3 separate regions of the Homo sapiens genome follow, and all the other regions are linked to region 3. Evidence: promoter capture Hi-C in human tissues and cell types (Jung and others, 2019). All regions are on one chromosome and are shown on one strand. The core of a region is centred on a gene start or on the middle of the fragment in contact, and the rest is flanking DNA. Distances in the headings are between cores, read along the strand shown.

Region 1 (3,839 bases), core at 1,277-3,776, 210 kb after region 3:
GTGAGGAATGGTGCATTTCGGCCCAGATACTACACTTTTCCCATGGTCTTTGCAACCCGCAGACCAGTAGATTCCCTTGGGTGCCTATACCACCAGGGCCCTGGGTTTCAAGTACAATACTGGGTGGCTGTTTGGACAGACACTGAGCTAGCTGCAGAAGTTTTTTTTCATACCCCAGTGGTGCCTGGAATGCCAGTGAGAAAGAACTGTTCACTCCCCTGGAAAGGGGGTGCTGTAGCCAGGGAGCCAAGTAGTCTAGTTCAGCGGATACCACCCCCCACTGAGCCCAGCAAGCTAAGATCCACTGGCTTGAAATTCTCACTGCCAGCACAGCAGTCTGCAGTCAACCTGGGATGCTCAAGCTTGGTTGGGGGAGGTGCATCTGCCATTACTGAGACTTGAGAAGGTGGTATTCCCCTCATAGCATAAACAAAGCCTGGGGAAGTTCGAACTGGGCGGAACCCACCACAGCTTGGCAAAGCCTCTGTAGCCAGACTGCCTCTCTAGATTCCTCTTCTCTAGGCACGGTATCTCTAAAAGAAAAGCAGCAGCCTCAGTCAGGGGCTTATAGATAAAACTCCAATCTCCCTGGGAGAGAGCACCTGGGGGAAGGGGTGGCTGTGGGCACAGCTTCACCAGATTTAAATGTCCCTGCCTACTGGCTCTGAAGAGAGCAGCAGATCTCCCAGTACAGGGCTCGAGCTTTGCTAAGGGACAGACTGCCTCCTCAAATGGGTCCCTGATGCCCATGTCTCTTGATGGGCAGACACCTCCCAGCAGGGGTTGACAAGACACCTCATACAGGAGTGCTGTGGCTGACATCTGGTGGGTGCCCCTCTGGGATGAAGCTTCCAGAGGAAGGAACAGCAGCAATCTTTGCTGTTTTGCAGCCTCCGCTAGTGATAACCAGGCAAACAGGGTCTGGAGTGGACCTCCAGCAAACTACAGCAGACCTGTAGCAGAGGGGCCTGACTGTTAGAAGGAAAACTAACAAATAGAAAGGAATAGCATCAACATCAACAAAAAGGACGTCTACACAAAAACTCCATCCGAAAGTCACCAACATCAAAGACCAAAGGTAGATAAATCCATGAAGATGAAAAAGAACCGGTGCAAAGTAGCTGAAAATTCCCAAAACCAGAATGTCTCTTCTCCTCCAAAGGACCACAACTCTTTAGCAGCAAGGGAACAAAACTGGATGGAGAATGAGTTTGATGAATTGACAGAAGTAGGCTTCAGAAGGTGGGTAATAACAAACTTCTCTGAGCTAAAGGAGCATTTCTAACCCAATGCAAGTAAGCTAAGGACGTTGACGAAAGGTTAGAGGAATTGCTAACTAGAATAACCAGTTTAGACAAGAACATAAATGACTTGATGGAGCTGAAAAACACGAAATGAGAACTTAGTGAAGCATACACAAGTATCAGTGGGTGAATTGATCAAGCAGAAGAAAGGATATCAGAGATTGAAGGTCAACTTAATGAAATAAAGTGTGAAGACAGGATTCGAGAAAGAAGAATGAAAAGGAACAAATAAAGTGTCCAAGAAATATGGGACTATGTGAAAAGACCAAACCTACATTTGATTGGTGTACCTGAAAGTGATGGGGAGAATGGAACCAAGTTGGAAAACACTCTTCAGGATATCATCCAGGAGAACTTCCCCAACCTAGCAAGACAGACCAACAATCAAATTCCGGAAATACAGAGGACACCACAAAATACTCCTTGAAAAGAGCAACTCCAAGACACATAATCATCAGATTCACCAAGGTTGAAATGAAGGAAAAAGTGTTAAGGGCAGTCAGACAGAAAGGTCAGGTTACCCATAAAGGGAAGCCCATCAGACTAACAGTGGATCTCTCTGCAGAAACCCTACAAGCCAGAAAAGAGTGGGGGCCAATATTCAATACTCTTAAAGAAAAGAATTTTCAACTGAGAATTTCATATCTGGCCAAACTAGCTTCATAAGTGAAGGAGAAATAACATCCTTTACAGACAAGCAAATGCTGAGAGATTTTGTCACCACCAGGCCTACCTTAGAAGAGCTCCTGAAGAAAGCACTAAATATGGAAAGGAAAACCAGTACCAGCCACTGCAAAAACATACCAAATTGTAAAGACCATCAACACTATGAAGAAACTGCCTCAACTAACAGGCAAAATAACCAGCTAGCATCCTAATGACAGGATCAAATTCACACATAACAATAAGGCTAAATGCCCCAATTAAAAGACACAGACTGGCAAATTAGATAAAGAGTCAAGAGCCATCAGTGTGCTGTATTTAGGAGACCCATCTCACGTGCAAAGACACACTCAGGCTCAAAATAAAGGGAGTTTACCAAACAAACAGAAAGAAAAAAAAAAAAAAAGCAGGGGTTGCAATCCTAGTCTCTGATAAAACAGACTTTAAATCAATAAAGACCACAAAAGACAAAGAAGGGCATTACATAATGGTAAACGGAGCAATGCAACAAGAAGAGCTCACTATCCTAAATATATACGCACTCAATACAGGAGCACCCAATACAGGAGCACCCAGATTCACAAAGCAAGTTCTTAGAGACCTACAAGGAGACTTAGACTCCCAAACAATAATAGTGGAAGACTTTAATACCCCACTGTCAATATTAGACAGAAAATTAACAAGGATATTCAGGACTTGAACTCAGCTCTGGACCAAGCGGACCTAATAGACATCTGCAGAACTCTCCACCTCAAATCAACAGAATATACATTTTTCTCAGCACCACTTTGCACTTATTCTAAAATTGACCACATAAGTGGAAGTAAAACACTCCTCAGCAAATGCAAAACAACAGAAATCATAACAATCTCTCAGATCACAGTACAATCAAATTAGAACTCAGGATTAAGAAACTCACTCAAAACTGCACAACTACGTGGAAACTGAACAACCTACTCCTGAATGACTACTGGGTAAATAATGAAATTAAGGCAGAAATAAATAAGTTCTTTGAAACCAATAAGAACAAAGATACAATGTACCAGAATCTCTGGGACACAGCTAAAGCGGCGTTTAGAGGGAGATTTATAGCACTAAATGCCCACAGGAGAAAGCGGGAAAGATCTAAAATCAACATCCTAACGTCACAATGAAAAGAACTAGAGAAATGAGAGCAAACAAATTCAAAAGCTAGCAGAGGACAAGAAATAACTAAGATCAGAGCAGAACTGAAGGAGATAGAGACACGAAAAGACCTATGAAAAAATCAATGAATCCAGGAGCTGGGTTTTTGAAAAGATCAACAAAAAGATAGATCACTAGCCAGACTAATAAAGAAGAAAATAGAGAATAGACACAATAAAAAATGATAAAGGGGATGTCACCGCTGATTCCACATAAATACAAACTACCATCAGAGAATCCTATAAACATCTCTATGCAAATATACTAGAAAATTTGGAGGAAATGGATAAATTCCTGGACACGTACACCCTCTCAAGACTAAACCAGGAAGAAGTTGAATCCCTGAATAGACCAATTACAAGTTCTGAAATTAAGGCAGTCATTAATAGCCTACCGACCAAAAAAAGCCCAGGACCAGACAGATTCACAGCCAAATTCTACCAGAGGTACCAAGAGGAGCTGGTACCATTCCTTCTGAAATTATTCCAAACGATAGAAAAGGAGGGGCTCCTCCCTAACTCATTTTATGAGGCCAGCATCATCCTGATACCAAAGCCTGGCAGAGACACAACAAAAAAAGAAAACTTCAGGCCAATATCCCTGATGAACATTGATGTGAAAATCCTCAATAAAACACTGGCAAACTGAATCCAGCAGCACATGAAAAAGTTTATCCACCACGATCAA
Region 2 (3,794 bases), core at 777-3,276, 230 kb before region 3:
TGTTTCCCAATTTTCAGCTTTTAGCCTAACTGTTAGGTACAGTTGACACCACGTATGGAAGCTACAACTCCAAAGAAAACCTGCAGTCTACTGGCCTGATGCATCAGAGACAGAGTCAGGAAAACCACAGCCACTGGAGAGAGAGGGAAAACCCAGAAAGAGTCAGAGAAAAGTCCCAGATCTTTGGCTGATCCTTGATCCATGCATGCTCAGTATAGACTCAAAGCAGCCCAGCTAAAGATAAAAGAACTAAACTGAGTTTGACCTGATTCCTAACAGTGAGAGTTTGAGGTTTGAATCCTACCAAGTTAATTGCCTGCTAAAACAAAACAAAATCAACATTCCCAAAAGGAATGTATCATATTCCAGAGTCTCCATAATGTAACATTTTCAATGTTCAAGATACAATCCAAAGAAGAAATGGAGAATTAAGGCCCGTTTTTTAAAGGAAAAGAAAATAAATAGAGACCAACTGTGATGACTCAGATGTTGGAATAGACAAGAATTTTAAAACAACTATAATAACTATGCTCAGTAAGGTAAAAGAAGATATGTTCATAACAAATGCAACAATGAGAAACTTCAGCAGGGAAATAGAAACTATTTTTAAAAAGCAAAAGGAATTCTAAAACTGAAAAACACAATATTTGAAATCAAATAATCACTGTATGGACTTAGCAACAGAATGGAGATAACAAAAGAAAGAGTCAATAAACTTGAAGCAACATCAATAGATAGCCCATCTAAAGAAGAAAAGTAGGAAAAAGGTTGGAAAAAAATGATTTTTAATCCTTAGGGACCCAAGAGACAAAACATCTAACACACATGTAACTGGAGGTCCAAGAAGGACCAGAGAGAAAGGGTTAGACAAAATATTTGAAGAAATAATGGTTTAAATTATCCCAATTTGTTGAAATTTACACATTCAAAAATTTGTTAAGCCCTTAGCAGAATAAATATAAAGTAAACTATGCATAGGCACATCATGGTTAAACTGCTAAAAACTAAAAATCAAGATAATTTAAAATGTTAGCTTTTTAAGACTGTTTCTTTATAGTAGAATATTTAAGCCATTCAAATTATGTTTTGATACTTGTAATAAGCTCCTGGGAAGACAGGGTAGAAGCATTATTTTCCCTTGGAGCTCACTAAACCTGCCAGGACAATTCTTAGAATTTGGTACATGGCAAATGGATTCTGTTAACTGGGTGTCCTTATTTTGGTCAACTGTAACATTACTAGAAGGCTTCTAACCAAAAATTAATGCAAAAGCTTGTCTTTTGGGGCTATGATGATTTGTTTTGATTTTGTATTTTATTCACCCAGCTAAAATGCAGTCTTTATTTTTAGTATCAATCACAACTAAGTTATCTACAAATTCAATACAATCACTATCAAAATTGCAATGGTATTTTTCACAGAAATAGAAAAAACGATACTAAAATTTATATTGAACCACAGAAGGCCTAGAATAGCCAAAGCAATATTGAGCAAGAAGAACAAAGCTAGAGACATCACATTACCTGATTTCAAAATATATTACAAAGCTATAGTAATAAAAACAGTATGGTACTGGCATAAAAACACACATATAGACCAACGGAACAGAATTGACAGCCCAGAAATAAATTTACACATTTACAGTTAACAGATTCAACAAAAGTATGAAGAACACACAACAGGGAAAGGATAATCTCTTCAATAAATAGTCCTGGGAAAACTGGATAACCACAAGCAGAAGAATAAAATTAGAACCTCATCTCATTATATTCAAAACTCAAAACAAAATTGACTAAAGACACAACATAAGACCTGAAATTGTAAAACTACTAGAAGAAAACAGACGGGAAAAGCTTCTTGATACTGATCCGGGCAATGATTTTTTTGGATATGACCTCAAAAGCACAGACAACAAAAGCACAAATAGACAAATGTGATTGCATCAAACTAACAAGCTTCTGCACAGCAAAGAAAACAATCAACAGAGTGAAGAAACAATGTATGGAACAAGAGAATGTATTTCCAAAGTATACACCTGATAAGAGGTTAATATCCAGAATATATAAGGAACGCAAACCACTTAATAGCAAGAAAACAACCTGATAAAAAAATGGACAAAGGACCTGAATAGACATCTTTTTTTTTCTTTTTCATTTTTTGAGATGGAGTTTCACTCTTGTTGCCCAGGCTGGAATGCAATGGCATGACCTCAGCTCACCACAACCTCCACCTCCCTGGTTCAAGCGATTCTCCTGCCTCAGCCCCCCAAGTAGCTGGGATTAAAGGCATGCACCACCGTGCCTGACTAATTCTGTATTTTTAGTAGAGACGGGGTTTCTCGTTGTTGGTCAGGCTGGTCTCGAACTCCCAACCTCAGGTGATCCGCCCGCCTTGGCCTCCCAAAGTGCTGGGATTACAGGCATGAGCCATCGTGCCCAGCCGACATCTCTTAAAAGACGACATACAAATGGCCAACAGGTCTATGAAAAATACTCAACCTCACTGATCATCAGGGAAATGAAAATCAAAACCACAATGAGATATCACATCACGCCTGCTAGAATGGCAAGGATGTAGATAATAGGGAACCCTTGTATGCTGTTGGTGGGAATGTAAATTGGTACAGTCATTATGGAAAACAATAAGGAAGTTCTTCAAAACACTCAAAATAGAACTGCCATATGATCCAGCAATCCCATTTCTGGTATATATCCAAGAGAAATGAAATCACTATCTCAAAGAGACATCTGTTTTCTCATGTCCATTGCAGCATTGCTTACAGTAGCCAAAATATGGACTTGACCATTCGTCCATCCATGGATGAATGGATAAAGAAAATGTGGTGTGTACACATATATAATGGCATATTATTCAGCCTTTGAAAAGAAGGAAATCCTGTCATTTGCAACAACACGGATGAACCTGGAGGGCACCATGCTAAGTGAAATAAGCCAGGCATATAAAGACCAATACTGTAAGATCTCTTCTATAAGTGGAATCTGAAAAAGTCAAACTTATAGAAGCAGAGTAGCATAGTGGTTCCCAGGGACTACAGGGTGGAGGAAATGGGGAGATGTTGGTCAAAGGGCAAAAACTTTTAATTACACAGTAGGATAAGTAAGTTCTGGAGTTCTAATAGACAGTGTGGTAGCTAAACTTAATATTACTGTATTGTACACTTGAAATGTGCTGAGCAATTTTAAATGCTCTCACCACACCCACACACACAGATAACTGTGTGAGGTGATGGATATGTTAATTAGCTTAACAGCAGTAATCATTTCACAATGTATAGATATATCAAAATATCACATTTTGCACCTTAACTACATACAATTTTTATTTAGCAATTAGACCTTGATAAAGCTGGAAAAAAACTTAATCACAACTTCTTACTCAAAGCAGATGGTAGAAAGGTTAAGAACTATTAATAAGCATAAAGGAAATCTGACTACTGAAATCAAGTTTCTGTTGGGATGGCAGAAGACCTTAAAATATCATGAAGCCTTGATTTTTTTAGTTTCTAGAATACACTAGAACTTTCTTCCTGGCAAAGTGTTCTGAATGACTTTGAATTATCACATATTTGCACAGTGGAATTCCCCTGTTCTCTTTATTGTCCCCACTATTTGCTTCAAAAATTTCTATTATTGCTTATTTCCTCAGATAGAAACCAGCCCTGATACATAAAACTTGCCAGTGTACAATCTATTGTTGACTATTCTAAATCCTGGACTATTAAAGGAGACCATGTCCTTAAGTAGTTACTGTTAGAAATGTCTCCTTGCTTTCCT
Region 3 (3,746 bases), core at 339-2,838:
AGTAAAACAGATTAGGGAGATTGTGTGAAAGGCCCTATGTAATGCTGTACTATAAGAATGGAAAGCCGGCCAGGCGTGGTGGCTCACGCTTATAATCCAGCACTTTGGAAGGCAGAGGAGGGCAGATTATGAGGTCAAGAGATTGAGACTATCCTGGCCAACATGGTGAAACTCGTTTCTACTAAAAACACAAAATTTAGCTGGGCATGGTGGCGCGCTCCTGTAGTCCCAGCTACTCGGGAGGCTGAGGCAGGAATCGCTTGAACCCGGGAGGCGAGGGTTGCAGTGAGCCGAGATCGCGCCACTGCACTCAGCCTGGCAGCAGAGCGACACTCCGTCTCAAAAAAAAAAAAAAAAAAAAAAAAAAAAAAAAAAAAAAAATAATGGAAAGCCATCACAGGTTGTCAAACAGAGAAAAAACAATTAAGTGTATATTTCAGAAAGATAATTATATTTTAATGTGTAGGATTGGCTGGAGAGAAGGGGTAGAAAGGCCAGAGAAATGTTGAAATAATTTAAGTAGGACTAATTGGTACAGATTTCTAACAGATAGCTAGAAATACAGATCTAGAGTTTGGAGAAGACAATATGGGAATACAGCTCTAGAAATAAGCCAAGTAGTAAATAATCCACCCAGGGAGGGGATATGATAGCAAAGAAGTATCAAAAGTCAGCATTTCAAGAATGATCTCCCAAACCAGGGGAAAAGTGATTCCAAACCTAGAGTAGGAGTTTTAGGAAGGGAGAAGTCAGAAAAGTGTGAATTGGGCTTAGCAATTTAGAAAGGTTTGTGGAAAAGTGTAGTTGGATGCGAGAGAATAGCGGATGGGAAGAAAACAAAGTAAGGAGACAGGTCATGTTTACCCTGGCACTCAATAAGGTCTGATAATGACTAGCAAGTAGCACCACGGGTGGGTGGGCGGCGGGGTTGTTAAAAATACGTATCTCAGCTCTAACTCAGACCTACTGAATCAGAATCTACATTTTAACAAGCCGCCAGAGAAAAGTAGTTATACCTTTAAAAAATTGACTTGGACCACCGTATTTGCTAAATTTGACAACAGAGAGTAGGAGATTCAGATAACTTGAAACGGAGGAATAGTTCAATGATTAATAGTTCCCAATTTGGCCTCAAGCTTTCTCGTTTTAATTGAAAAACAAGGTTAACTTGCAAAAACCTCGAGATTCTCAGGGAAAAGCAGTGAGGATGACCTAACAGTAGACACCAAACAACCTCACTCAGCCATTCCGCCATGCCCAGCGCGAAAGACTCAGGTTTAAAATATCCGGATTCGGCGCGCCGGATGTCCACGCCAGCTGGCGCGGCATTATGGGAATTGTAGTCCCGGCCCGCTTCCCGATTTACCACAAACTGTTGGGCCCGGAGTCGGAAGAGACCCGGGTTTGGGAAGGACCCCAGGGTCAGGCGTCCTGGTGGAAGGGCGGGCCTCTTTCTCTCTTGCTCAGCAGGGAGTCCAGAGCCCTGGAGGAAAGCCAGCTCAGCTCCGCATCGGCGTCGGCGGTTGGGACGCACACACTCTGCGTCATGGAGGGCTGAGGCCGATGATGAATTCCGGAGTGCCTGTCAGGCTTGCTGTGTCACTCGGCCCGCTCGGCGCGCCCCTTCCCAGCCGCCCTTCCGTACCGGCTCTCGGGCTCTTCCGGTCTCCGGCCGCCCCTTACCTGCAGGCTCTTCTCCCGCCGCGGCCCGGCGCTCTCCGAGTCGCCCCTGCGGACTGGTCTCGCACAGTGCCTGGGCACCGGGCGCCAGACAGACACTGGCCATGACGAGCGGCGCAACCAGGTACCGGCTGAGCTGCTCGCTCCGGGGCCACGAGCTGGACGTACGGGGCCTGGTGTGCTGCGCCTATCCGCCGGGAGCCTTTGTGTCCGTGTCCCGAGACCGCACCACCCGCCTCTGGGCCCCAGACAGGTGAGCGCTGGGAGTCGGGTTGCCCCGGCTGTGTTGCACGCTTCCCGGAGAGTGGAAGGAGAGTGACCCTTCCCTGTCAGTCCTGCCGTCTCTCTCTCCCCCCAGCCTTCCCTCTGCTCTCCGCTCCCTTCCAATTCTCAGACTATTAGAACTCTGTAAGAAACCATCGGGATTTAAGTGGAAAGAGCACAGGGTTGGGGGACCAAAGACCTGCCTTGTTGTGCTAACTTGACCACAGACGAGTCTCCTACCTTTTGGGCCTTCAGTTTTTGGACGATGATCTCCCAAGTTTCTTTTAGACTTGAAAATTTACTGATTGCAGTTGCACCCTCCGAAGTGAGGTAGTTTGAAGGCATCTGAAATGTCCTCTTTTTTTTTTTTTTTCGAAGAAGATGCTCTGTAGTCTTCTGTAAAATTTAATTTTTGAAGACTTTAGTTCTCAAAAATTGCACTGGTGAATCCTCTTTTCGTCCAGGTTAGAATTTTAGTCTGTGGTCTGTGCTGGTCCTGAGGGAGTGAAACCTCTCGGATGTTTTGTTTCTGTGCATGTGCTGTTTCTTGAGGAGAAGCAGCATCCATTGCCTTCAAAGGATTTATCAGAAGGGTTCACGAACCAAAAAAAAAAAGAAGAAAAAGGTTAGGAATCAGTCCTGATCGAGTTCACGGGTTCAGCCCTGATTTGGCTGGTTGTAACAGGATATTTAAGACCTAGAAGACAGATTGCAGTTCAGAGAAAGAAAAATTGAGGTTAGTTATTTTGTTATTTAGTAGGTCTCCCACTGCTAGAGATTTTAGAATTTGAGTCACCATCCATAAATTCAGTTGATAACTGTTGAGTGCCTCCTCTTTGTTTGGGATACTGGAGAGGAATAAAGACAGACAAGTTGCCAGTGTTTCTGGAGCTTTCTTACAGTCTGATGGGGAAGATAGATTAAAAAACAAGCCAATAAATAATTAAAAACTGGCATGTGAAGAAAACATACAGTTAATTAGGTGGAGAGATATATTAAAGGAAGCCTCTCTGAGGAGTTGTTTGTTTAAAGTTGACATTTGAAGCATGAGATGGATGGAGCTGGTCGTGGAAGAGCAAATAGGGAGGATTGAATTGGAAGAGCATTCCAGGCAGCTGGAGGAGCAAACAGGAGGGAATTAGCTGTGAGGTGAGGGCAGGTTTTGAGGCTGGCAAGAGCCAGGTTATGGAGTTTGCAGATGGAAGCCTTCAAATAGTTTCAAGCAGGGAGCAACATGATCTGATTTCCGTGTTGAGAAGTTTCTGCTAGCTGATGGTAGAGAATAGATTGAGAAGGGATAAGTGTAGAAGTGGGTTTGCTTGGAGGCTTTTGAAGTAGTATAATCAACACAAGATGGTCCACTAGGCTAGGGATAGTATAGAGCAAATTCCTGTATTGAATTGAATGAGATGATCTCTAAAGATCTAACTCTAAAATTCTATAATATCCAAAACTACTTAGTAATACTAATATGGAACTTTTTGTTTGAGTACAGTTATTAAGTTTTTGCCTTTAAAATTGAATCCAGTAGAAGCATAAGCCCAGTAGAATATAACCATTGCAGTAAGGAGTATAATCAAGGATGCCTGTTTTAATAATGGAATCCTGTCATTAAACTTTTGGGACTGTACTAGTTTGACAAGGGTTTAATCACTGGAGTGGTTGTGCTTACCAGGAACTTGAAGAACTTTGGGCTGAACTGATTCTCTATTTGAAAAGTGATTTTGTTGTTCATTGAACTATTGATTTTTTTTTTTTGAGACAGAGTTTTGCTCTTGTTGCCCAGGCTGGAGTGCAATGGC

What was found. The method cuts DNA at HindIII sites, captures the fragments that hold promoters and counts their contacts. A contact is called where the count stands out against the background at its distance.
Region 1: a contact is called between a fragment that was not itself captured here and the fragment with the promoter of PLAA in region 3, in 1 of the 25 tissues and cell types used here (IMR-90 fibroblasts).
Region 2: a fragment that was not itself captured here is called in contact with the fragment with the promoter of PLAA in region 3 in 2 of the 25 tissues and cell types used here (IMR-90 fibroblasts and mesenchymal stem cells).

Annotation. Positions count from the first base shown.
Region 1 is chr9:26,731,952-26,735,790 of GRCh38, reverse strand. No RefSeq gene overlaps it. Among named protein-coding and RNA genes, the nearest start is that of CAAP1, 160 kb to the left of the region's middle. RefSeq lists an enhancer at 460-529. The HindIII fragment of the contact is 3,842 bases long and covers 606-3,839 here.
Region 2 is chr9:27,176,116-27,179,909 of GRCh38, reverse strand. All of the region lies in intron 6 of TEK (TEK receptor tyrosine kinase), which reads right to left. Among named protein-coding and RNA genes, the nearest start is that of TEK, 69 kb to the right of the region's middle. The HindIII fragment of the contact is 3,143 bases long and covers 455-3,597 here.
Region 3 is chr9:26,945,084-26,948,829 of GRCh38, reverse strand. PLAA (phospholipase A2 activating protein) reads left to right here and starts at 1,588. Exons shown (of 14, transcript NM_001031689.3): 1 at 1,588-1,933. The coding sequence starts at 1,785. It also overlaps a transcript of IFT74 not described here. RefSeq lists enhancers at 1,265-1,574, 1,164-1,837, 1,835-2,094, 1,838-2,513. The HindIII fragment of the contact is 5,571 bases long and covers 284-3,746 here.